Regions from separate parts of the Homo sapiens genome. Here regions 1, 2, 3, 5, 6 and 7 are each linked to region 4. Evidence: promoter capture Hi-C in human tissues and cell types (Jung and others, 2019). All regions are on one chromosome and are shown on one strand. Each heading gives the region's core, a stretch centred on a gene start or on the middle of the fragment in contact. The rest is flanking DNA. Distances are from core to core; before and after follow the strand shown.

Region 1 (3,458 bases), core at 243-2,742, 490 kb after region 4:
TCATCCAGAAAAAGGGACAGGAAGCTCCGTAGAGTGTGACCCAAAGGCTTGATGCGGAAGTAGCGCACATACTCCAGGAAGATGAAGACCGCCAGGCATACAGTGGCGGCTACATAGAGCAGTGGCCGGTCAAAGATGATACCTGGGATGTAGGTGGCTACCACAATGAGGTGGAAATACTTTCGGGCGATGGTGGGGGCCTGGTGCTTCTTGGACTCGGAAGATGACCGCTTGGCATTCTGGTACAGCACCACCAGGCAGGCCAAGGTGGCCAGCAGAGACCAATAGGCTAGGAGGTAGATGCGGGTGTCTGTCTGGAAGAGAAACTGAAGAAGCCAGAGCAGGGGATTCCTGCGGATGAGCCGGTGCAGCCAGGGTAGGACCACACCAAGGCTCAGCACACAGGTCATGAGGTGGAAGAAGATGGAGGAGGCCCAGGTGCCTGAGTCCATGAAGACAAACAGAGTGCTGAAGAAAATGCCCATGAGTACCATCCCTACTACCACCACCAGCAGGAAGAAGTCCACTGGGTCCCCCTGACTTTCCACCAGTGTCAGAGAGCGCTTGATGAGCTGGTTGAGGACAAAGCTAATGCCACCCAATACCAGCAGTGCCTCACCAGGGGTGAAGCAGCGGGGCAGCAGGTACAGCAGGATCATGTTGAGATAAACGAAGATCAGAAGGACTTCCAGGACTTCGATCACCTCCCCCACGCTCAACGAGTGCTTCATGATATAAATGATAACACCTCCAGCCAAGCCCAAGATGACACAAGTGTTGGTTGGCACTGGGCGAGTGATGCCGAGCGCCAACACTGATGAGAAGAGGGCCACTGCCATGCCAGTGGCTGCCACCACAATGCCAAAACGCTCAAAGAACGGGTTCCCAGCAGTCTGGCACCGCTCCTTCATGACTAGTCCAAGCAAAGGCATGACCATGGAGGCGGGCAATAGGCCACTGTTTGCGGACATTCGGAACTGGAAGACGGCGCTTCCCTGCTGTAGCAGCCGGTCCCACTTGTATTGGACGTAGAAGGCCTGCACTGCGAGGGCCACGGCGCACCACGAGTATCGGTCCCATACGGTTGCGTGGATGCTCAGCACCACTGCAAACACTACTGCCGCCTCTGCCAGCACCGATCCACTCAGCGGAGCCCCAGGCCCCGGGGCCGGAGATGGGCACTCTCGGGTCATATCTCTAGACCTGGGGCTTCACGGAGGCCGGGGCGACTACGGACGCCCTAGACTTCGGGCCCCTCAGCCCCGTCAAGCAGAGGGAGGCACTTTCACCCGGCCAGCAACCTTCTCCCTCCGTTCTCCAGCAGCGAGGAGGGAACTCCACCGCAGGTCACTTCTGCGGCCTGGGAGCTGGCGCCCGGCCACCCCCCACAGCCTCCAACCTACGGCGTAGACGTCGCCACTCTGCAGCCTTCCTCACAGTTACAGCCGCCCCCGCTGCCGGCTCCTCACCTCTTTGGGCCTCGCCATCTTGGCACCGCCCCGCGGCAACGTCACGTGACGAAATCCCCGCCCACGCTCCGGGTCCGGGGGCGAGCGGTCACGTGGGCATGGCGTCTGGGGGCGGGGTTAGGGCGAGCGGGCGCGCGAAGATGGCGGCGGCCGCCGGCGGGCCGTGTGTGAGGTGCGGAGCGGGTCGAATGGACCGGGGTGGCTGTGAAGCGCGGTGTCAAAGCCGAGCGGAAGCGGGGCGGGAATTGGAGGCGGGATGTGGCGACAGTGGCAGGGCCAACCCCGGCTGGATGGACGGGCACCGAGACGGGAGGCGGTTACGTCCAAACGGTCCCCGCGCGCGGGGATCTGAAGAGTCTTCTTCAGGAGGGGGGCCGGCTCTTCACCCCTTCCCTCCGCGCTCGGCCTCCCATCTCCTCACCCAGGGCCCTTTGCCTTCCTCCTCTCTCACCTCCGACGCGTCTCTTGGCGCCCCACCCGCGCTTCCTTCTCCGGCCGTGACGCTCCCTCGAGCCACGGGGAGCTTTGCGGTCTCCTGGGGTACCCCCCACCCACGTCCCTGCTGCAGGCTCCCAGTGTCCTGCCCCGGCGTCGAGTGCGCCCTGCTGGCTCCCCGACCTCTCCCGCGATCTGTTCTTGTTAGGATTTTGTTTCGCGTTGAGCGGAGCCACGCTTGCGGCTTCTGTCCTCTCCGCGCCTCGTATCGTTCTTTTCTTGCACTGAATCAAGTCAGCCAGCATGTCCAAATCCTCCAAGAGATTTCAGGGATTGAACTAGGCTTTAGGGACAAGAAGATGAAATATTATATACGAAAACTACAATTCTGACAAAGTGCTTTCTAGCGTCAGACCCTGGTGGAGCGCTTCCCAGGAGTTATCTCATTCAATTCTCGCAACTCCGAGAGGCGCCTTCTATTTCACAGATGACTCAGAAGTCCGGCTCAGAGCTAGCCAAGTGATAAAGAGAGCCTTCAAGCTGAAGTCTGCGTACCTCCAGTGCTATAACCAGACCACCACGCCTCCTTCTGTCTTCCACATTGCAGCTCGAAGGTCTTCGTTCTTCCCACCACCCTCCCTCAAAGTTAAACATCCCCGTCTCTTATCCTTCCCTGTGCCAGCAGTGTTTTCCCCACTTTTTTTTTTTTTTTTTTTTTTTTTTTTTTTTGAGACGGAGTCTCGCTCTGTCGCCCAGGCTGGAGTGCAATGGCACGATCTCGGCTCACTGCAAGCTCTGTCTCCCGGGTTCATGCCATTCTCCTGCCTCAGCCTCCCAAGTAGCTGGGGATACAGGCACCCGCCACAACGCCTGGCTAATTTTTTGTATTTTCAGTAGAGACAGGGTTTCACTGTGTTAGCCAGGATGGTCTCGATCTTCTGACCTCATGATCCGCCCGCCTCGACCTCCCAAAGTGCTGGGATTACAGGCATGAGCCACCGTGCCCGGCCCTAACAATATTATTATATAACAAGATTACTTTCCAAAAATTTAACAAATCGTTTTGTATATTGAGATTTTTTGCTTTTAGAGAGCAGACAAAATGGCTATGAGGCAGTGTACAAGTTTGTATGATCAGAAAGAGCAAAATTACCTCTGTTCTCTCATTTTGCAGGAGCAGTAGAGAACTGTGGACTATTCTGCTTGGAAGGTCAGCTCTGAGAGAGCTGGTAAGTGGTGGTGTTCTTGAGTGGGTTCTCTGGGTTCTTTGTGTAGCTTTTGTTACCAAAAAAAACCTTTTTTTAAATGTAGGAAGTAAACACATTTATTTATTTAGAGACAGAGTTTCGCTCTTGTTTCCCAGGCTGGAGTGCAATGGCGTGATCTCGGCTCACCGCAACCTCCGCCTCCCAGGTTCAAGCGATTCTCCTGCCTCAGCTTCTCGAGTAGCTGGGATTACAGGCATGCACCACCACGCCCGACTAATTTTGTATTTTTAGTAGAGATGGGGTTTTTCCATTTTGGTCAGGCTGGTCTCCAACTCCCGACCTTAGG
Region 2 (3,749 bases), core at 532-3,031, 310 kb after region 4:
GTTACTTAACCTCTCCAGACCTCAGTTTCCTCATCTGAAAAATGGGGATAATAGGCCAGGCGCGGTGGCTCACGCCTGTAATCCCAGCACTTTGGGAGGCCGAGGCAGGCGAATCATGAGGTCAGGAGATCAAGACCATCCTGGCTAACACAGTGAAACCTGTCTCTACTAAAAATACAAAAAATTAGCTGGGCGTGGTGGTGGGCACCTATAGTCCCAGCTACTCGGGAGGCTGAGGTAGAAGAATGGTGTGAACCCGGGAGGCGGAGCTTGCAGTGAGCCGAGATCGCGCCACTGCACTCCAGCCTGGGCGACAGAGCCAGACTCTGTCTCAAAAAAAAAAAAAAAGGGAGGGGGGGATAATAATCTCTACTTCACAGGGCTGTGGTACTAAATGAGATAATGTTGAAGAAATGCTTAGTCCCAGCCCAACAGACTAAGTACACAACATGGTGGTTATGACCCCACCTTTTTTTTCTTTTTTCAGAGTCTTGCTCTGTCACCCAGGCTGGAGTGCAGCGGCACCATCTCAGCTCACTGCAACCTCTGCTTTCCAGGTTCAAGTTATTCTCCTGCCTCAGCTTCCTGAGTACCTGGGACTACAGGCACCTGCCCCTACACCCGGCTAATTTTTGTATTTTTAGTAGAGACGGGGTTTTGCTATGTTAGCCAGGCTGGTCTCGAACTCCTGAGCTCAGGTGATCCACCCGCCTCGCCTCCCAAAATGGTGGAACTACAGTCATGAGCCACCATGTCCAGCCCTATGACCCCATAATTTGTTTTTTTTTTTTTTTTTTTGAGACAGAGTCTCACTCTGTCACCCAGGCTGGAATACAGTGGTACGATCTCGGCTCACTGCAAGCTCCGCCTCCTGGGTTCATGCCATTCTCTTGCCTCAGCCTCCCAAGTAGCTGGGACTACAGGCGCCTGCGACCACGCTCGGCTAATTTTTTGTATTTTTAGTAGAGATGGGGTTTCACCATGTTAGCCAGGATGGTCTCGAACTCCTGACCTTGTGATCCGCCCGCCTCAGCCTCCCAAAATGTTGGGATTACAGGCGTGAGCCACCGCGCCCGGCTGACCCCATCTTATAGAGGAGGAAACTCAAGGTCAAACAGAGGGAGCTGTGTAAACTAGACTGGAACCTGGTCTCGTGGAATCCCTCACATCTCTTAGAGCAAGCTTGTCCAACCTGTGGTCCATGGGCTGCATGTGGCCCAGGACAGCTTTGAATGCAGCCCAACACAAATTTGTAAACTTTCTTAAAACATTATGACATTTATGGACTTTTTTTTTTTTTTAGCTCATCTGCTGTTGTTAGTGTTGGTGTATTTTACGTGTCGCCCAAGACAGTTCCTTTTCCAGTGTGGCCCAGGGAAGCTAAAAGATTGGACACCCCTGACTTAGAGGGTTCTGGAGTTCTGGGGCCCAGCATTGTCCCAGCTTCTGGGAGCCTCCCTCTGTGCCCATTTGTAAACCTTCCAGACTGCTCAGGAAATCCAGCGGGAAGCCACAGGGCACACTGGGCTTTGGAATCAGCCAGTTCTGAGTTCAACTGTGGCACCACTGTCTACTGGGGACTGTGTGTGGATGGGCTGTGGATTCAGGCAGGCATAGCTCACATTTCAGCCTTGCTGCTCACGAGGAGACAAACTTGGGCAAGTGTCTCCACCTCTCTGTGCCTCAGTCACTTTTCCTCTAAAATAGAAGCAGCACAATACCTCATCCCCAGCACGGTGTGAAGATTCCATGGAATAATATCAAAAGGGCTTAGAACGGTGTCTGGCATGTAGTCATTGCTCAATAAAGACAACCGTTATTATGTTGTTGTTATAATCATTACCTTCTCCTACCTCATCTGCCCTGGCTCCCAGCTCCGGGCCTGTGCTCCCCGGCCTGGGTCTCCCACAACAAGGCTCATTGTGTCAGCTGTCCCACTGGCAGCATGGCACCCTCGAGGGAAGGCACAAAAGCCAGGATGCCTGGGCCCCGGGCATGGCCTTCCTTTGCCTTCATTTGCTTCAAGATCTTTAAGAGCCCAGCAGCCTCTCTTGCCTGGGAAACTGGAACCAGAGGGAGCACTGCTGGCAGAGAGTCCCCACTCTTGGAAAGCAACTCTTTTCAAGCCCACCGGAATTACAGCCAGCTTTCTGGCCTACTTGGTCCCCACTGCCCCCCTACTCCAGCCAGCCTGGCCTCATCATTCACTGTCCTGGCAAAAGGCCCTCGGCACAGGTCACCTTCAGACCTTTGCCCAGTCTGTTCTCTTTCAACCAGGACCATCCAAATTCAACTAATTACTGCACTTTCTAATTTAAATACTGCCTTCTCCCCTCCCCTACCCAAATACACTCCATGTCCTTCCTCCAGGAAGTATCTCCTGGCCACTCCAGCCCACATGATCTTTGAACTCTCCTTTCACGTAGCTGATACCTATGGTCCCAGTGTCAAAGTTACTTCCTCTGGGAAGCCATGCTTAACCCACCAGGGTGTGCCTGCTGAGTCCCCCCACAGGCCCGATCTACCACAGCAATGAACACTTGGTACGATGTGGCTTTGATGATTCAGCATCCTTGATGGATGGCCAGGTCCATGAGGGCAAAACCAGGCTGTCTTGTTTGGTATCACCTCCCTGGACCTGCTCACTCAGTCCCTGCTGAGCACTGGGGGTCCTTGGTGAGCGAGCCGGACAAGGTCCTTGACCACATGGAGCGTACTGGCTCCGGAGGGAGACAGATCCACCTACAGGGCCCATAAGCGCCTGTCGCGTAACTGGGACCAGTGTCTTGCAGGAGAAGGGGCCTGGGGCTCTGGATGCCCAATCAGGGGACTTGCCCTGGACTGGGGAGTCAGAGCAGGTATCCTTAGAAGTGACATTTCAGGCCAGGTGCAGTGGCTCACACCTGTAATCCCAAAACTTTGGGAGACTGAGGTAGGTGGATCACCTGAGGTCAGGAGTTCGAGACCAGCCTGGCCAACATGGTGAAACTCCGTCTCTACTAAAAATACAAAAATAAGCTGGGCTGGTGGCGCACGCCTGTAATCCCAGCTACTCGGGAGGCTGAGGCAGGAGAATTGCTTGAACCCGGGAGGCGGAGGTTGCAGTGAGCCAAGATCACACCATTGCACTCTAGCCTGGGCAATAAGAGCAAAACTCCATCAAAAAAAAAAAAAGAAGTGACATTTCAGCTGGGACCCAAAAGATAAGTCCTAGTTAACTCTGGTGGAGGGGAGAGAAGGGGAAGGCGCTTTGGGAGGAAGCAAAGAAGTACCTAAGCTGCAAGGAGAGGGGGTGCATGGGACGTTGGCACTACGGGCCCAGGTCCATGACTATTTGCTAAATGAACAAAGGAAGCACTGAACACTCAATGTGGGGCCTGCCACAAGGTGAGGTTTCAACAAAGGCCTGTGGAAGGAATGACAAAGTACTCGCCATCAGAGGTCTGCACGAGGCCTGGGAGGTATAGTACACTCTCGCATTCTCCCTGCTTGCTGCACTCAGGACACTGCTGGGCGCCCAGTGGCTGCAAATGATGCCTCTTGGCTCGGAGGCTCTGAATGAGGGAGAGCCACTGGGGTTTTGCCTTTTCTGCAGGTCTGAGCCCAGTTACCTAGGCAGCTGCTCTGCCCTTACCATGCTCCCCAAGTGGAAGAAACACCACCACGTCAGTTGTCACGGTCACCAAAAGCCCCCAAAACATAAGCCAGGTAGATGGCGCCATCTGCTAGCCTCCCCTTAGCAGTGTTGA
Region 3 (3,589 bases), core at 138-2,637, 330 kb after region 4:
AGTAGCTGGGACTACAGGCACCCACCACCACGCCCGGCTAATTTTTTTCTTTGTATTTTTTAGTAGAGATGGGGTTTCACCGTGTTAGACAGGATGGTCTCGATCTCCTGACCTCATGATCCGCCCTCCTTGGCCTCCCAAAGTGCTGGGATTACAGGCGTGAGCCACCGCGCCTGGCTAGCTGTTTCTTTCTTTTTTTTTTTTTCTCAAGAAAAAGGTGTTAAATAATACAACCATTTCGGAAAATCTTTAAGCAGTTTCTTTTCTTTTCTTTTCTTTTTTTTTTTTTTTTGACAGGGTCTTGCGTTTTTGCCCAGGTTGGAGTGCGGTGGCGCTATTGGAGTGCGGTGGCACTATCTCGGCTCACTGCAAGCTCCGCCTCCCGGGTTCAAGCAATTCTCCTGCCTCAGCTTCCTGAGTAGCTGGGATTACAGTTGTGCGTCACCACACCCGGCTAATTTTTGTATTTTTAGTAGAGACGAGGTTTCACCATGTTGGTTAGGCTGTTCTCAAATTCCTGACCTGGTGATCTGCCCGCTTCAGCCTCCCAAAGTGCTGGGATTACAGGCGTGAGCCACCACGCCCGGCCTACTCAACTAATTTTTACATCTTTTGTAAAGAAGGTAATCTCGAGGAGCTGGGATTACAGGCGCCTGCCACCACGCCCGGCTAATTTTTGCATTTTTGGTAGAGACGGGGTTTCACCGTGTTGGCCAGAGTGGTCTCCAACTCCTGACCTCAAGTGGTCTGCCTGCCTCGTCCTCCCAAAGCACTGGAATTTACAGGGATGAGCCACCGCGCCCGGTCCAGCCTATTTTTCTTAAGATATCATTTGTGTTTTTTTCTTTCTTCCTAACTTACATTTTATAGGGTTTGCTGGTATAGTTTTTATAAAAAAAAAAAAAGTTGGGCCGCGCACGGCGGTTCATGCGAGTCCCTGCTATACAGGCCTTGAGGATTCTGCAGAGACCAAGATAAGCTGGGGGGCCTGAACAGTTTAGCAGGGGAGGCCGAGACTCCTGTAACAATCATGCAGTAGTTAATTACAGGGGGGTGAGTGCAGGGAAGACGACAGGGTGACAGGTATATTGCGTAAGTAGACACTGAGGCCCAGGGAAGCGCAAGGAATAGTCCAGAGACACACAGTCTGCGCTGTCACCGGCGGGTTCTCAAATTTGGCCCGCAGGGTCGGCGGCGCTGGGGCTCCCGGCCCGCGATTGCCACGCCCACCAGACCCGAGGTTGCCCCGCTCAACCCGGCCGGCCGTAGCCGCCAGTACCGTGTGGAAGCGTGAGAGTCGAGGGGTGGCACGTGACTGGCGGGGCGGGGCGGGGCTGAGGCGGTGGAACGCGCAGGCTAGTGGCTGTGTTTCCCGCCGGAGGCTTTTGCGCAGAGCCCCGCGTCCCTGGGGGGCGGCGGCGGCGGCGGCAGCGCAGGCGGCAGAGGCGCAGGCGGCGGAGGCGGCTGGGGGGTCCGGAAGTCAACACCATGTCAAGTCTGCACAAGAGCCGGTAAGGGGCCATGGGGCCTGACCCGGCTGGGCCACTCCTGGCCAGGCTGCCCCTTCTGCCCCTCAGAAGGGGGAAGCGCGGGTGTGGCCAGGAATCGGCAGACCCCCTCGGCAGAGGGTCTCGAGCGTCCACCTTCTAACCTCATTGCCTGTGGGCTGCAGGAACGACGGAGGGGCGGCCCTTCTCCTGCCCCTGATGTCACTGCTTCTGCCTCCCTCATCCTGGACCCCTGGTGTCCCCCTTCCCCTGAGTCTTCCTCATCCAGACCCCCATGCCCCGCCCCCGTGCCTTTCCCCCTTTTGATCCCCCTGCTCCCGTACTCTCTCCAAGTGCACCCTGTCCCCCGTGCCTTTTTCTTACTAGGATTGCTAGAGAACTTGCATTCTCCAGTCTGGCCCCTCCCCCAGGCCAGATCCTGCAGCATTGGCTGAATTTTGCTCACTCTTCAGTTTTCCTTCAGGACGTGTTTTTTAAACCCTTTGTCCTTGCCTTCTGGCAGGCCCAGAGGTCTTGTAATGGTTATATTTGTGAGCATGGTCCATTGTCTGCATATCAAATTACTCCTGGTTCCTGAGGTCCAAGGAGTTCAGTTGGTGGCTGTGCGTGGACCCGGCCTGGCCGGCAGGAAGTGCCCAGTAAATGTCAGCTCACTAAGTATTAGAATGTTGGAATATGTCTAATTTTATGGTCCTCATTTGGGAACTTCTAGACAAGAATATCTCTCAAGTTTCTTCCCTGGCATTCTGTGTTTCTGGTTGTAGAGGAAGAAGTGAAATATAGTTTTGTTGTTCTCCAAAGCTGTCTTTGGTGAGGACCTTGACTAAGCTGTGTGATTTTTATGTCCTAAAGGGGAGAGAGGCACAGGTTGGAAACTGGCAGTGTGAGGGAGCTGAGGGCTGTGGGTCTCACTGAGCCGATATCAGCATGCTTCATTTGCCGCCCTATCTCCCCTTCCAGAATTGCAGATTTCCAGGATGTCCTGAAGGAGCCCTCAATTGCATTGGAAAAGCTGCGGGAACTCAGCTTTAGTGGTAAGAAGCCATTCTGTATTTTCACGGTTTCCCTACAGCAGCCCTGTGGCTAGAATACAGGGGGAGGCCACACCTGGTCAGCTCTGGGGCCCAGCTGCTGGGGGCTGGGGCCTTGGAAGGAAATTACACACAGACTCTTGGGGCCTTTTCCAGATTCTGTAGAGCTGAACAGGCAGTGACTGCCTTGAGCTTGGAGGGGTTTCCCAGAGGGGCAGTGGCCACACTTAGCATGCCCTAAGCTTTCCTAAGCTTTCCGCAGGAGGTGCCAGATTCCTGAGAGTAACAGGACAGGACTGAAGCCTGGAGAATGAGAGTTGGGACCTTTTGAGCCCAGGACAGTCTTTCCTCATTCCTTAGCTAGCTTCCTGTGTTGGTGAGTTTGGTTAACTGCAGGGTTGTTCCTTGTTCTCTCCCTGGCTTGGGGTCTAAGCTGCCTGAACTAAACCTTGGCTAGTGGTAAAATGGGTAGCCTTGGGACACTGACTTTAAGGAGCTGATCCTGCTGTGTTAGACTTTGCCCCAATGAGCACAAAGATAACTCTCTTTTTGCCTGTTTTAAAAAATATCCCAACGTGTTCTGCATAGCTTCTTGTCACTTTTTTGCCCTTGTAACTTTGCCAGCAAGAACTTCTGGCCGGGTGCCGTGGCTCATGCCTGTAATCCCAACATTTTGGGAGGCCAAGGCAGGTGGATCACCTGAGGTCAGGAGTTCGAGAACAGCCTGGCCAACATGGTGAAACCTAGTCTCTACTAAAAATATAAAAAAGTAGCTGGGCTTGGTGGCACTTGCCTGTAATCCCAGCTACTCGGGAGGCTGAGGCAGGAAAATCACTTGAACCTGGGAATTGCAGTGAGCCGAGATTGCGCCATTGCACTCCAGCCTGGGCGACAAGAGTGAAGCTCCATCTCAAAAAAAAAAAAAAAAAAAAGAACTTCTTATATTGTCCCTGTCATCCTCATATAGATTCTGAAGTGGAGGTATTCACTCATGTTCATGGTACCAGGGATACTACAGCAGCAACTGCGGTAGTGAGCTTCCTGATCTTA
Region 4 (3,390 bases), core at 326-2,825:
TTTCATGGCTCAGTTCCAATACCATCACCTCTGGGAACCATCTCCTGCCTGCCCCAGGAGGACCGGGACCTCCTTTTCCTGTCCTCTTTTCCTTGAACCTGTATATACTTTTTTTTTTTTTTTTTTTTTTTTGAGACAAGAGTCTCACTCTGTCACCCAGGCTGAAGTGTAGTGGTGATTTTGGCTCACTGCAACCTCCGCCTTCCAGGTTCAAGGAATTCTCCCTGCCTCCTCCTCCCTAGTAGCTGGGATTACAGGCACACACCACCATGCCCGGTTAATTTTTGTATTTTTAGTAGAGACGGGGTTTCGCTATGTTGGGCAGTCTGGTCTTGAACTTCTGACCTTAGGTGATCCGCCTGCCTCAGCCTCCCAAAGTGCTGGGACTACAGGCGTGAGCCACCGCAGTCTTAAATGGTTAATGAGGATTAGGAAATCTATCAATTATTCAACAGAGAGACAATGAATGGATCAAGGGATTGGGGAGCTCCCTGACATTACAGAACAAATTCAGTATGCAGTATACTGTGAAAGCGAGGCGGAAAAGCAGGTTTTGTTTGCGAGTCTGACTTTAGGATTGCAGGTGAAACACTTGTGTGACCCTGGAGCTGTGTGGCTAAGGTGCTGCGGGGTCACTGGAGAAAGGTCAAGGGACTGTGGCCCAGTTGGCCCGGAGGTGGTTCAGGTCTCCCAGATTCCAGGGCGGCATTATGAGCCACGTGACAGACCTCCCCTGACTGGCTGACAGTGAAGCATAATTGAGAAGATGGCGGACCAGCAAGGACCTCATCAGAATAGGTCTGTACACAGAGCGGCATAGAGAGTGCAGGAGGGTAGTAGACCGGGCGCGGAGGCTCAAGCCTGTAATACAAGCACTTTGGAAGGCCGAGGCGGGTGGATCATGAGGTCAGGAGATGGAGACTATCCTGCCCAACACGGTGAAACCCCGTCTCTACTAAAAATACAAAAAAAAATTAGCCGGGCGTTGTGGCGGGCGCCAGTAGTCCCAGTTACTCGGGAGGCTCAGGCAGGAGAATGGCGTGAACCCGGGAGGCGGAGGTTGCGGTGAGCCGAGATCGCGCCACTGCACTCCAGCCTGGGCAACAGAGCAAGAATCTGTCTCAAAAAAAAAAAAAAAAAAAAAAAAAAAAAAAAAAAAAAAAGTGCAGGAAGGTAGTGAACAGAACAGCAAGGGGAATGCCGACCCTTTCTCCTGTTGGGGCCAAGACAGAGGCGATGTGGGCAGGGGAGAGGCCGGGGAATGCGCAGAAGCCGACTCCATCTCCGCATTAATAGTGGACTAGGGGCAGGGCTGGATTTTCGGAGGCAGTGTGCAGCTCCCAATAACTAGTTCCATGGGTCCTCTGTGAGCCTAGTTTCCTGGTGGGTACCGAGGGGAGGGCGTCGGAACCGTACGCTCCTTTGAGTGAGGGGAATCCGGGAGGATCCAAGGCAGGGGAAACAGGGCCGAGCGGGAAAGGCCTTGAATGGGGGGCGAGACCCGGCCAGGCCCGCTGGACGCGTAGCACGTCTCCTTGGTGACGGGACGCGTGGCCCGGAAGTGGGCGGCCCTTCTGGCGGGGCGGGGCATCTCTGTGACGCTAGGGGCTGGGCCTCGATGGCGAAACCCAAGCGGCTCCCGGGGGGGTTTGAACTGGCCAATGGGCGAGCTGCCGACCGGGTGTCGGAAAAGGAGGCGGAAGCGGGGAGGAGCCGCTGCCAGAGCCAGACTGCATCCGCCGCGGCGTCTCCATGGCACGACCCTGGCCTCCGACTTCAACGACTTCATAAGGCGGCGTTTCTGGGCGCAGCCGTGTCGCTCCTGGTGAGAGGCCGCCGGCAGGCGGGATCCAGCGCCCTCCGGGGCACCGCGGGCGAGACCGTCGCCTTCGCACCCCCGGCGCGGTCGACCCCGCGGGGCCGTCGGGTCCTGGGTTCCCCGCCGCGTTGCGCTCGTCCCCCTCCTGTCAGAACCTGGGCCCCCGCCCCGCCCACCGGCGCGGGGCCTCTCCTCCTCCCGCTAACGGGCGGTCGGCCGCCTCCTTCCTCTCTTGGCTACCACGGGGCTCTGCCCCTCCTCTGCCGCCCGCGGGCAGGGCTTCACCTTTCTCTCTATGGGCAGAAACCGGTACCCTCCTGCCTGCTGGTGGGTGGCCGTCCCTTCTCTCCGCCGACAGAGGCTCTCCCTCGCTCTGCTGCCCGTCGGCGGCATCGCCCCGACCGCCTCGTCCTCTCCTCGGGCCTCCACATGGCAGTCACTTGTACGCCCTCCGTAGGCAGCGCTGTCCCCCGGGCACCGTCTCCGGCTTGCCAGGGCCCTCGCCCGGCGGGGGGGGGTCCCGCCCGCCCCCTCCCAGCCCGGCGTCTATCCTGCTCAGAACTCTGTTCGGTTTTCCCTCGCGGCGGGGCGCCCGGGGCCCGTGCAACCTCCGCGCCTCCCTCCTTTAAACACTATTGGTCCTCTCGGGCATCTGTTCTTCCGTAACGCCCCTTCTCCTAGGAGACAGTTGTCCGGCCCCGCCCCAGCATCCCCGCGGCTCCCTGCGCGGTTCTGGCCCTCTGGGGCCCACTTGGGGCCGAGCGGTTCTCACCCGCCCTCTCCGCACGTCCGCCGGCGCCTCAGGTTTCCCCCGGTAGCCACCGGCAGTCCTCCGCGTGGGACCCGGGCGCGGTGGTCCTTTCCCTCGCGGTTCTGCCCCGTCCCCTCCCCTTCCTCCCCTCTGCCCCCAGGTCGCTCAGCCTCTACTATTTCCCCCTACTTTGGCAGGACAGTTGCTGTGCGACTTGGACAGTAGAGGAGCGCCTCCCAAGTTTTCATCCAACTGCCAACCCCAAAGCTTCCACCCTTCTCCCCTCAGAGAGGACGTTTGATGCCGGGCCCCTTGAGAGGCTCATTGACAAGCCTGCCCCTCTGGGTCCCCCTGAGCAGAGCCTGCTGACCCAATTGCCCACCTTTGCGGCTTTGATGCCTAGCCATGTCTGCCTCATCCTCAGGCGGCTCCCCCAGGTATTGCCGATGTGGGAGGCGCCTGCGCCGGAGGGCAGGGAAAGGTGGCCAGGGGTCCCCAGGGCAGGCTCGCCTGAGGCTTCCAGCTTCCTCATTGTGTTTGCTGAAAGTCTGGACCAAAACGTTTAAAAATCGTTTTTAAAGGGAAGGGGGAACGAAATGTATACACAATCCTAGCTCTACCTCCCTCGCTCCTTCCCTCCCCAGATGTCACAGCTTCCTGGAAGCAAACAGGGTCACTCTTGTTGTCTTTATATAATAGAGTACTAGGTTCAGAGCCTTTTTGAAGGGAGTCGAGGTGTAAATAAATAACACGTAGGAGGTGGATGTGGCAGTTAGCAAGATAATGGAATCCAGGTGGTTTGACAAGAAACCCACTGAGA
Region 5 (3,899 bases), core at 1,145-3,644, 390 kb before region 4:
TGCCATTGCACTCCAGCCTGGGCAACAAGAGCAAAACTCCATCTCATAAAAGAAAGAAAGAAAGAAAGGCACCCCAGAGGCTGGGTCACATGCTCTCTGTGGTACCATGCAGCAGGCATCTTGGGTGGGACTCTACACACGCTCTTTGCAGCCACATTAGTCCTACCTCCTTTGATGCTTTCTGCTTTTTTTTTTTTTTTTGAGACGGAGTTTTGCTCTTTTGCCCTGTTACCCAGGTTGGAGTTCAGTGGCACGATCTCGGCTCACTGCAACTTCTGCCTCCCAGGTTCAAGTGATTGTTGTGCCTCAGCCTCCCGAGTAGCTGGGACTACAGTCGCCCACCTCCAAGCCTGGGTAATTTTTGTATTTTTAGTAGAGACAGGGTTTCACCATATTGGCCAGGCTTGTCTCGAACTCCTGACCTCCACTGATCTGCCCACCTCAGCCTCCCAAAGTGCTGGGATTACAGGAGTGAGCCACCATGCCAGCCCTTTGATGCTTTCTTGACTTGACTTCCTAGGCCCCTATGGCGAAGCAGAAAAGGAGGTGGGAATGGGGCAGCAGTAGCTAAAGTACCCAGTCAATGTCTCCCTGTCTGTCATCATCTGGGTCAATCCGATACTTAAACATCCTTCCTGTTCCAGAACAGCATCTGACCTAGACCCGTGTTTGTCCCCCTTACCCCACCCCAGTGTATTCTTGAGAAATACGCATTGTGAGGGGATGGCACTCGCACATCCACCCAACTCCCCCAACCCCCACTGAGAATCACTGAATGATCCAGCTCACGGTCATCACAAACGAGCAGAGGTAACAGGGCACAAACTCTTCTTTGAACTAAAAAATCCAACCAAAGTTAGTTCTGTTGTCATTCCTGAGAACCACGGAAAGGATCCTGGCTGGGCTGTATGGGCCTCCGCGCATGTGGGAGAGGTCAAGCTCCTCCACCCTTCAACGCCAATGTCAGCTATGTGTCCTTATGCCACCAAGAAGCCCCCTTCCTCTTCCGGGGCCTGAGGTTTTCCCAACTGATGGCGAAGCTATTCCTATATGTGTCATCTCTGTCCTACTAGAACATAACTGGCCTGTATTTTAGACAACTTGGTAATCCCAGTGCCCAGCACAGGGTTTGGTACAGAATAAGTGCTAATGTTTGATGAATGAATGAATGAATGAATGGAGTAGATTAACACCAGGAACCATGAGGCTCCTGAGCAGCACCTGATGAAAGATCCCCCACACTGAAAACAGAATCCAGAATCGTTGTCTCACTTGGGCAGTATTATTCCCATCAATTTTTTCAACAAATATGGCCTGGCTGTCTACTACAAGCCGGGCCCTGTGAAAAGTCCTGTGGGGATACAGACACGGTCTCTTGTTTTCAAGGACCACCCAGTTCGGCAAGTGGAGGTAAGTCATGGACAAACATGGTGGCAATGCTCAGTGGCGAGCTATCCAGCACGTCAGAAGTCCAGCCCACGTGCTGAGGAAGTCCCAAAGAGAGCAAGATCACTTCTGTCTGGGTGCTGCTCTTGGAAGGCCTCATGGTCTTCCAAGACCCCCATCTGACCTCTGACCCTTGGCAGCCAACCTTCCCCAGGCCACCCCAGAGCTTGCTGGCCCTTCCCACTTATGCACGCCGCCTGGGCAGGAGAGGTCACTCACTCTGTGTCAGGGTGACCGTGGCTGCGGCTGCGGTGGCCGAGGGTCCGAGGGCCACAGGGTGGATCTCTGTGGTGCTGGGCAGGCTGATGATGGTGGCCTCGCCCAGCAGGTTGCAGATACGTTGTTGCATGGGGGTCAGCAGCACTGGGGCTACAGCTGGGCCACCGCCACCACTGCCACCGCCTGTCCCAGGCCCCCCAGCTCCGTCCTCCTCAGTGGGCCCCGGCGCCTCACCACCCTCCACGGCGGCCCGGACCTGGGCAACCTTGCGACGGACCTCGGTCTTGAGGTCAGACCACTTCTTCTTGACCTCAGGCAGCTCTCTGCGGCAGGTGGCCACGGCGTTGACCCTTCTCAGGATGCCGTGCCAGGCCGCACTCTTGGCGGCCAGGGGTACCCCGGCGTTGAAGTGGTTCACCAGCAGGTGCTTCTTCAGCTCCAGCTCCTCCACGATGATCTCCACCTCCCGCTCTGAGAAGTTCATCTTCCTTTTCTTGGCTGGGACGGCCATGGCCTCTCCCCTCCCCTCTTTTTAAAGAAATTATAATCCCCTCAAGCGCCCCAATTCCCCTTCTCTTCTTCCTCAGCCTCGCCCCTCACCCACCCCCTACAGGGGATAGGCCAGGCTTGCTCGAGGCCAAGCACTAGGCCTTTGGTAACCCCCCTCGCTACGCAAAGTGCGTAGGGCCCAGCCCCGACCGGCCCGGCCGCTGCCAGCCAGCAGCGTAATGGCTTCCTGAATCTGCCTCTTCCGCCGAGGTGTGCGGAGATCCGCCCACTTCCCCTCTTCCCGCCTCCCAGCGCTTCTCCGGGAAAACCGGCCTTCCCGGTTGGTAGCTGCTCAAATATCACGTCGATCACTGGTTCTTTCGATCTGTCGCTCAGCTAAAGAGCACGCCTGCTTACTGTAATTCGCCTGATCATTGGTCTAAAATTGTGTCCGTCGCCCAGAGGGCCCCGCCCACCTAACCTTTATTCACTTCCATTGGAAAATCATTCTGTCGTTCAATTGTCAGTATTACGACTATTAAGCCGTTAAATTCAGCTATTTTATTGGTGGTTTAGGGAGTTAGATTACCAAAACCCTGCTTCCTGAGGATACTTAGTGCTTTCGGCCGTGACCCATGGGTCAATTAACTTTTAATTCCTCCCACCGGCACAAACTCTGCCTCGCAACTGCAGTTCACAAATGCTCTCACACAAATCCTGTTTCCCACTGGAGGCTACGATCTCTCCGTACACTACCGCTCCTCCCATCCTTAAGATCCCGCAGTCTAAACAGAGTTAGTTCATCAATGGAAACTGGACACGGGGCCTTCCGCCTGCCAATCACATTACTCATGCCTATCGCTGCGTGATTTTCTCTCTCTTGGCCCCCGGCTCAGCCAATCCCCGCCTCCCTCAGTTTGAATCGGCCCCAGGCGGAGCCGGGTGACCCCGCCCACCCCATTGATCCGGGTAGTCCGTGGCGCGTGGGCTGTCCTTAGACAGGCTCCGCCCCTCCCTCCTCCCCATCCGAGCCTGTGACTGGCCTTCGGTGCGCCCGGGCGTGGCCGGCGAAGCGGGGCGCGGAGGGGCGGGGCTCCCGGAAGCCGCCCCTTCCGCCAGCTTGCCGGCGTCTCCGAGCCCGCGCTCCCAGCTGCAGAGCGCCTGGCTTGCCTCCCGCGCGGTCACCGCCGGCCCGCCGCCCCCGCTCCCGCCCGCGCCCGGAGCCCCTGCCTCGCGCCCGATGGTGAGCAGTGTGTTGTGCCGCTGTGTGGCCTCCCCGCCGCCGGACGCCGCCGCCACCGCCGCCTCTTCGTCTGCCTCATCGCCGGCGTCCGTGGGGGACCCCTGCGGCGGCGCTATCTGCGGGGGCCCGGACCACCGGCTGCGCCTGTGGAGACTCTTTCAGACGCTCGACGTCAACCGGGACGGCGGCCTGTGTGTCAACGACCTGGCGGTGGGGCTGCGGCGCCTGGGACTGCACCGCACCGAGGGCGAGCTCCAGGTAGGCTGCGCGCGTCCTCAGCACTGGCGGGGAGGGAGCCCCTCGAGGGCCGGGTGACAGGTCTCGGGGGACGGCCCCTTGGGCTGGGCGGAACCCCCACTGTCCAGAGGAAGGGTGCCCCCTGACTCACTGAGGGACACCCCACTTATGCCCTGGTGGGAGCGGGGCTCCTTCCTGACTTCTTTGGGTGCTTGAGCCGGGTTCTTCGTGGACACAGGTGGGCATCCTATGGGCTTTCTGATGG
Region 6 (3,744 bases), core at 1,245-3,744, 460 kb after region 4:
TTTTTTTTTTTTTTTTTTGAGACAGAGTCTTACTCTGTCACCCAGGCTGGAATGCAGTGGCTCGATCTCGGCTCACTGCAACCTCCGCCTCCCAGGTTCAAGTGATTCTCTTGCCTCAGCCTCACGAGTAGCTGGGACTACAGGTGCCTGCCACCATGCCCAGCTAATTTTTGTATTTTTAGTAGAGACAGGGTTTCACCATGTTGGCCAGGCTGGTCTTGATCTCCTGACCTTCTGATCCACCTACCTCAGCCTCCCAAAATGCTGGGATTACAGACATGAGCTACTGCGCCCAGCCGTGCTGGCTAATTTTTGTATTTTTTGTAGGGACGGGGTTTTGCCATGTTGCCCAGGTTGGTCTCGAATCCCTGAGCTCAAGAGATCCACCCACCTCAGCCTCCTAAAGTGCTGGGATTATAGGCGTGAGCCACCGTGCTTGGCCCCTCATGAGTTTTGATGGGTGGGGATGGGAGAGGAGGGCACTGGAATGGGAACCAGTAGTCCTGGGCCTTTGTCCCAGCTTCATGGGACAGGATGTGCATGAAGCTAGGCAGATCCCTTCTCCAGTGGCCTCTGTATCCCCATGTGGACAATGGGAATTTCCACTCTGTGCTCTCAAAGGTCCCTTGCAATTCCAACAGTGAGTCCCAAGTGGTCTACAGAGGTGGGGCTGAGAGTCATCGTGGGGAAGCCTGCCTCAGCTCCCAGCCCCTTTGGGGGCCTTTGGGAGGTAGTGTGGTAAAGGGCAGAGGCTGAGACAGCTGCTTCCAGATGCCAGTTCTGCCGTGTTTGATGTGGGGCTTCAGTGTTCTCATTTGTAAAATCAGGAAGGTAATGGCACACTTGCAGGACTGTTCAAGGAACAATGGCGATTATGTAGGTAGATGGGGTTTTTGGTGGAGGACCTGGCTGCTAGTACCCAATAAATGGCCTTGTATCTTCCACCCAGACCAAGGATCCTTGTGGTGGGCCAACGTGGGCGCCCTGCGGCAGGAGACTGGGTGAGGAAGAAAGGCCATCATATCTGACTTTGACCTTAGTGATGAGGCCTGGGTGGCTGCTTGGGCACCTCCTCTACAACTGGACAGAGTCTATCCCTCCTCCCTCCACGGGGACTCTGACCCCTCCAGGTGAACTCAGGCCTGAGCCAAGATTCCCTCCCTCTTCTCCCCCTGCCATGGGCTGACAGGCTGAGCAGCTGGACTGTGACTGCCGGGCTGGGGCCTTCTTTTCTGTTTCCGTGGTGGAGGTCCCTCCCCCAGTTTGGTACCCTTCCCACCACCCCCCGACCCCACTCCCGCCCCCACCCTGGCCTTGAGGCTGTCCAGCGCCTGGAGCAGGAGAGTTCGATCTGGAGCTGGTTTACATTTGGAAAAAACCACCATGTAGAAACACCGCCCACCCACTTCCCAAAGTTGAGCAGAATGAACAGTTAGTGGGAGGCTGGGCCTCTCCCCTCCCCCTCCCCCACCCACCCAGGGCTCTCCACTCTGCCTAAAACCACTGTGGTGGTCTTCTCTCTGATTGTAACAGCAATTTTGGAAGCTCAAAAAAATTGTTTAAATTATATTCCACCCAGCTGGGCGCGGTGGCTCACGCCTGTAATCCCAGCACTTTGGGAGGCCGAGGCAGGCAGATCACAAGGTCAGGAGATTGAGACCATCCTGGCTAACGCGGTGAAACCCCATCTCTACTAAAAAATATAAAAAATTAGCCAGGCGTGGTGGCAGGCGCCTGTAGGCCCAGCTACTGGGGAGGCTGAGGCAGGAGAATGGCGTGAACCCGGGAGGCGGAGCTTGCAGTGAGCTGAGATTGCGCCACTGCACTCCAGCCTGGGTGACAGAGCGAGACTCCATCTCAAAAAAAATAAATAAAATAAAAAATAAATAAATAAATAATATTCCACTCAGAACAGCCCCTGCTAACATTTGGTGAACAACTTGTTCACCAGTTGGTAGGCACTTACTCAGCGCCAGGCCTGGTGCCAAGCTCTTTATCAGCTGCGAAGCATTCATCTTATTTACTGCTCACAGGGGATCCTACTGCTAGCCCCAAATTACAGACTGGGAAAGTAAGGCCTGAACATCTGGGACGCAAACACAGTCTGCTTCACTGAGTCTCTACTACAAGCCTTCTGTGGGGGCTCCCAGGGGAATGGCTGGCCCAGTCCGAGGGGACCTCAGTGTTCTTGGCACATGGTAGGCATCTGTCTTTGTTGGGCAGTTGCATCAGAAGGGTTAAGGACAGCTGGGAACACATCCTGCCTCTAGTGAACCTCGTGGTTCTGTCATCTGCCTGCCCCTCACCCAGCCTAACCCCTCTGAACCAGGAGCCTGAGCTGCACTTACTGCTCCCCCCTGCCCCCCGGACGGCCTGGACCAAGCAGCAGCTCCCAGAGCGGTGGCCCAGCAAACACGACTTGACTCGAGGCCAAGGCTCTTGAGGGCTGAGCAGTGTCCCCATGCACACTCCTGAAACACTTTGTCCCTTCGCCATTCAGAAGGCATCATTTTGGGGAAGGCAGCAGCCGGTTTTTCAGAGCCAGCGAGTGGCCCTGCCAGCTGCTGAGCAGGGCAAGCTGAGAAGGGTGGTGGTGTGCAAGTGTTATTCTCTCTTTTTGTTTTTGTTTTTGTTTTTTGAGATGGAGTCTTACTCTGTCGTCCAGGCTGGAGTGAGTGCCGTGGCATGATCTCGGCTCACTGCAACCTCCGCCTCCTGGGTTCAAGCGATTCTCCTGCCTCAGCCTCCCGAGTAACTGGGACTACAGGCACCTGCCACCATGCTCGGCTAGTTTTTGGTATTTTTATTTATTATTTATTTATTTATTTTGAGACCGAGTCTCGCTCTGTCGCCCAGGCTCTAGTGCAGTGGCCCAATCTCGGCTCACTGCAAGCTCCGCCTCCCGCGTTCACGCCATTCTCCTGCCTCAGCCTCGCGAGCAGCTGGGACTACAGGTGCCCGCCACCACGCCCGGCTAATTTTTTGTATTTTTAGTAGAGACGGGGTTTCACCGTGTTAGCCAGGATGGTCTCGATTTCCTGACCTCGTGATCCGCGCGCCTCTGCCTCCAAAGTGCTGGGATTACAGGCCCGAGCCGCCGCACCCGGCCTGCAGGTGTTGTTCTGACCCCAGCTCCACTGTGCCAGCCCGACTTGAGATGCCAAGTATCTTGGGCCTGAGGGTGGGTAACAGGAAGCATCTCTCTCTCCTCAGCCCCTTCCTCCTACTAAGATACCCCATGTCTCCTACTTTCGTCTGAGCTGCAGATGGATGCGTTAATTCCCTTCCATAATCCTCCCAGGACCGAGAGGGTTTCAGATCGGTGCTGGGAGGGGCCCAGATAGTTCTCCCCAGGACCTCTTCCACCTTTGGAATGCCCATTACCTGGAGAAGGGGGGTGCCGCACATCCCCCAGACCAACCCTGCATCCCATTCTATCCAGATTGAGGCCTAGAGAGAGGCAGGCGTTCCTCAGAGTCACAGGGAATGGCGGCGCCTGGACTGGGACTCAGCCCAGCTGCTTGGCCTGACCCTCTCACAGCATAATTTCCCGGCACCTGGTAAGCAGTGGTGGGGGGTGGTTTCCAGAAGAAACACAGAGGAAGCAGATAAAATCCTTGGAGATGGGAAAGGGCAAATCCTGGATTAGTTGTGGGGGTGGGGGAGATTAGCCTGGAGGTCACAGGCTGATCTGGCTGTGTCTAGGGAAGGAGGGTTGGGTGGTGGGACCGGGTTTTCTCCGGG
Region 7 (3,613 bases), core at 416-2,915, 410 kb after region 4:
AGAGTCTCACTCTGTTGCCCAGGCTGCAGTGCAATGGCACGATCTTGATTCACTGCAGCCTCTGCCGATTCTTGTGCCTCAGCCTCCTGAGTAGCTGGAACTATAGGTGATCCACCCACCTCGGCCTCCCAAAGTGCTGTGATTACAGGCGTGAGCCATCATGCCCAGCCTGGCCCACTGATTTTTTTTTCCTTTTTTTCTTTGGTGAGACAGGGTCTCATTCTGTAGCCCAGGCTGGAGAACAGTGGTGTGTGCAATCACGGTTCACTGTAGCCTCGACATCCTGAGCTCAGGTGATTCTCTCACCTCAGTCTCCCAAGTAGCTGGACATTTTTTTCTTTTTTTCCTTTTTTTTGAGACAGGGTCTCGCTCTGTCACCCAGGATGGAGTGCAGTGGTGCGATCACGGCTCACTACAGCCTTGTTCTCATAGAGTCAAGCAATCTTCCTGCCTCAATTTCCTGAGTAGCTGGGACTACAGGCACATGCCACCATGCCTGGCTAATTTTTTTTTTTTTTTTTTTTTGAGATGGAGTCTTGCTCTGTTGCCAGGCTAGAGTGCTGTGGCACGATCTTGGCTCACTACAACCTCTGCCTCTGGGATTCAAGCGATTCTCCTGCCTCAGCCTCCTGAGTAGCTGGGACTATAGGCGCACACCACCATGCCCAGCTAAGTTTTGTATTTTTAGTAGAGACGGGGTTTCACCATGTTGGCCAGGATGGTCTCGATCTCCTGACCTCATGATCTGCCCACCTTGGCCTCCCAAAGTGTTAGGATTACAGGTGTGAGCCACTGTGCCTGGCCAATTTTTTAATTTTTTGTAGAGACGGGGGTCTCACTATGTTGCCCAGGCTGGTCTCAAATTTCTGGACTCACGCAATACAAAGGCCTTGGCCTCCCAAAGTGCTGGGATTACAGGTGGGAGCCACTGCGCCTGGCCTTATTGATTTTTGACAAGGGCACCAAGCCTGTTTTTTTTTGAGATGGAGTCTCGCTCTGTTGCCTAGGCTGGAGTGCAATGGCACAATCTCGGCTCACTGCAAGCTCTGCCTCCCGGGTTCACACCATTCTCCTGCCTCAGCCTCCTGCATAGCTGGGACTACAGGCGCGAGCCACCACGCCCGGCTAATTTTTTGTATTTTTAGTAGAGACGGGGTTTCACCGTGTTAGCCAGGGTGGTCTTGATCTCCTGACCTCATGATCTGCCCGCCTCGGCCTCCCAAAGTGCTGGGATTACTGGCGTGAGCCACCGTACCCGGCACCAAGCCCATTTAATAGAGGAAAGAATAGTCTCTTCAACAAAGGGTGCTGGGACAACTGGATATTTACATATAAAAGAATGAAGCAGGAGTTTCACCTCGTTCCATCTACAAAAATTAACTCAAAATAAACCAACAACTTCGAAAATTTTTATTGCAGAGATGGGGTCTCACCACGTTGCCCAGGCTGGGCTTTAACTCCTGGCCTCTAGCAATCCTCCCGTTTCGGCCTTCCAAAGTGCTTGGATTACAGGTGTGAGCCATTGTGCCCAGCCTGATCACATTCTTGATAATGTACTTTTTTTTTTTTTTTGAGACAGAGTCTCACTCTGTTGCCCAGGCTAGAGTGCAGAGGCGTGATCTTAGCTCACTGCAACCTCTGCCTCCTGGGTTCAAGCGATTCTCCTGCCTCAGCCTCCCGAGTAGCTGGGACTACAGGTGTTCGCCACTACGCCCAGCTAATTTTTGTATTTTTAGTGGAGACAGGGTTTCGCCATGTTGGCCAGGCTGGTCTTGAAATCCTGACCTCAGGTGATCCCCCCGCCTCAGCCTCCCAAAGTGCTGCAATTACCCGGGCCCGGCAGATAATGTTCTTTGGTACACAAAACTTTTTAATTTTTATGAAGTCCAAATATAGAAGTACCTTACAACCTAGCAATTTCACTCCTAGGTATATACCCAAAAGAACTGAAAACATATGTCCACACAGAAACATGTACACAAATGTTTATATCAACAGTATTCATCATAGCCAACAGGTGAAAAAAACCCAAATTGTCCATCAATGGATGAATGGATAAATTGTAACATATCTGTACCATGGAATATTATTCAGCCACAAAATGGAATGAAATATGTGCTGACACATGCTGTAACTTAGATGAACCTCAAAAATATATTAAGTGAGGCCAGGGCGACATGGCTGATGACTATAATCTCTGCACTTTGGAAGGCTGACGTGGGAGGATCATTGTTTGACACCAGCCTGGGAAACACGGCAAAACCTTGTTTCTACAAAAAATACAAAAATCAGCCAGGCATGGTGGTGTGTGCCTGTAGTCCCAGATAATAAGATGGCTGAGGTGGGAGGATCGCTTGAGCCTGGGAAGTGGAGATTGCAGTGAGCTGAGGTCATGACACTGCACTCCAGTCTGGACAACAGAGCAAGACCCTGTCACAAACAAACAAACAAAACACACTAAGTGAAAGAAGCCGGACAAAAAAGGTCACATAGCTATGATTCCTTTTCTGTGAAATATTCAGAATAACAAGTCTATAGAGACAGAAAGCAGATGAGTGGTAACCAGAGGACAGGGAGGAGGTAATGGGGAGTGACTATTTGATGGGTACGGAGTGTTTTCCTAAGGGAACGATAAAGTTTTGAAACTACAGTGACATAATGTTTGTACAACATTGTGAATGCACTAAATGCCACTGAATTGTATACCTTAAAATAGTTACTTGTATGTTAGGTGAATTTCACCTCAATTACAAAAAAAAAAAAAAAAGTATGGTAATTTTTTAAAAGGGTTGAAGAACAATATAACCCATTTACATTTTTTAAATTGTAGAGACAGGCTGGCCGCGGTGACTCACACCTGTAATCTCAGCACTTCAGGAGGCAAAGGCGGGTAGATTGCTTGAGCTCAGGAGTTCGAGATCAGCCTGGGCAACATGGTGAAATCCCATCTCTACAAAAAATGCAAAAAATTAGCTGGCCACGGTGGTACGTGTCTGTAGTCCCAGCTACTCGGGAAGCTGAAGTGGGAGGATTGCTTGAGCCCAGAAGGTTGAGGCTGCAGTGAGCCAAGATTGTGCCACTGTACTCCAGCTTGGGAGACAGAGTGAGACCTTGTCTTAAAACAAAACAAAACAAAACAAACAAAAACAAACAAAAAGGGCAGGTTGAAGAACAATATAACTCTATTTGCATTTTTTTTAATTGTAGAGAAAGCTGGATGTGGTGGCTCACACCTGGAAAGGTGGCTCACACCTGTAATATCAGCACTTTGAGAGGCCGAGGCAGGAGGACTGGAGCTCAGGATTTCCAGACCAGCCTGGGCAACATAACAAGACCTTGTCTCTACAAATAATTTTTTAAAAATTAGCTGGGTGTGGTGGTGCATGCCTGTGGTCCCAGCTACTCAGGAGGCTCAGCTGGGAGTATTGCTTGAGCCCAGGCAGTCGAGGCAGCAGTGAGCCATAATCACAGCACTGCATTCCAGCCTGGGTGACAGAGTGAGATCCTGTCTCAAAAAATAAACAAAATCAATTGTGGAGATACATATGTGAGGATGCATACATATATATACATATACACATACACATACATATTCAGGTAGTCTTTACTTTCC

The links. The method cuts DNA at HindIII sites, captures the fragments that hold promoters and counts their contacts. A contact is called where the count stands out against the background at its distance.
Region 1: a contact is called between the fragment with the promoter of DOLK here and the fragment with the promoter of ODF2 in region 4, in 3 of the 25 tissues and cell types used here (dorsolateral prefrontal cortex, hippocampus and small bowel).
Region 2: a fragment that was not itself captured here is called in contact with the fragment with the promoter of ODF2 in region 4 in 1 of the 25 tissues and cell types used here (dorsolateral prefrontal cortex).
Region 3: a contact is called between the fragment with the promoter of TBC1D13 here and the fragment with the promoter of ODF2 in region 4, in 5 of the 25 tissues and cell types used here (dorsolateral prefrontal cortex, lymphoblastoid cells, mesenchymal stem cells and 2 more).
Region 5: a contact is called between the fragment with the promoter of NAIF1 here and the fragment with the promoter of ODF2 in region 4, in 1 of the 25 tissues and cell types used here (dorsolateral prefrontal cortex).
Region 6: the fragment with the promoter of PHYHD1 here is called in contact with the fragment with the promoter of ODF2 in region 4 in 4 of the 25 tissues and cell types used here (adrenal gland, dorsolateral prefrontal cortex, lymphoblastoid cells and 1 more).
Region 7: a contact is called between a fragment that was not itself captured here and the fragment with the promoter of ODF2 in region 4, in 1 of the 25 tissues and cell types used here (dorsolateral prefrontal cortex).

Annotation. Positions count from the first base shown.
Region 1 is chr9:128,946,111-128,949,568 of GRCh38, forward strand. It overlaps DOLK (dolichol kinase), which reads right to left and starts at 1,493. Exons shown (of 1, transcript NM_014908.4): 1 at 1-1,493. The coding sequence starts at 1,193. NUP188 (nucleoporin 188) reads left to right here and starts at 1,589. Exons shown (of 44, transcript NM_015354.3): 1 at 1,589-1,641; 2 at 3,079-3,133. The coding sequence starts at 1,610. RefSeq lists enhancers at 253-815, 816-1,377, 1,239-1,308, 1,378-1,939, 1,659-1,708. The HindIII fragment of the contact is 11,289 bases long and covers 1-3,458 here.
Region 2 is chr9:128,760,825-128,764,573 of GRCh38, forward strand. All of the region lies in intron 1 of ZER1 (zyg-11 related cell cycle regulator), which reads right to left. Among named protein-coding and RNA genes, the nearest start is that of ZER1, 9.2 kb to the right of the region's middle. The HindIII fragment of the contact is 8,053 bases long and covers 1-3,749 here.
Region 3 is chr9:128,785,866-128,789,454 of GRCh38, forward strand. It overlaps TBC1D13 (TBC1 domain family member 13), which reads left to right and starts at 1,388. Exons shown (of 12, transcript NM_018201.5): 1 at 1,388-1,511; 2 at 2,469-2,542. The coding sequence starts at 1,489. RefSeq lists a silencer at 1,036-1,525. The HindIII fragment of the contact is 9,895 bases long and covers 1-3,589 here.
Region 4 is chr9:128,454,431-128,457,820 of GRCh38, forward strand. ODF2 (outer dense fiber of sperm tails 2) reads left to right here and starts at 1,576. Exons shown (of 21, transcript NM_001351578.2): 1 at 1,576-1,825. The coding sequence starts at 1,662. RefSeq lists enhancers at 649-1,385, 1,259-1,348, 1,386-2,121, 1,479-1,528, 2,122-2,857 and 1 more and silencers at 1,749-2,058, 2,189-2,288, 2,319-2,468, 2,679-2,728. The HindIII fragment of the contact is 20,941 bases long and covers 1-3,390 here.
Region 5 is chr9:128,064,926-128,068,824 of GRCh38, forward strand. NAIF1 (nuclear apoptosis inducing factor 1) reads right to left here and starts at 2,395. Exons shown (of 2, transcript NM_197956.4): 1 at 1,666-2,395. The coding sequence starts at 2,176. It overlaps SLC25A25 (solute carrier family 25 member 25), which reads left to right and starts at 3,307. Exons shown (of 11, transcript NM_001330988.2): 1 at 3,307-3,655. The coding sequence starts at 3,395. RefSeq lists an enhancer at 2,254-2,583 and a silencer at 3,034-3,603. The HindIII fragment of the contact is 18,346 bases long and covers 1-3,899 here.
Region 6 is chr9:128,918,488-128,922,231 of GRCh38, forward strand. PHYHD1 (phytanoyl-CoA dioxygenase domain containing 1) reads left to right here and starts at 2,495. Exons shown (of 13, transcript NM_001100876.2): 1 at 2,495-3,181; 2 at 3,443-3,560. The HindIII fragment of the contact is 13,888 bases long and covers 1-3,744 here.
Region 7 is chr9:128,868,200-128,871,812 of GRCh38, forward strand. All of the region lies in intron 1 of KYAT1-SPOUT1 (KYAT1-SPOUT1 readthrough), which reads right to left. The region is part of intron 1 of KYAT1 (kynurenine aminotransferase 1); the gene reads right to left. Among named protein-coding and RNA genes, the nearest start is that of KYAT1, 12 kb to the right of the region's middle. The HindIII fragment of the contact is 5,668 bases long and covers 1-3,613 here.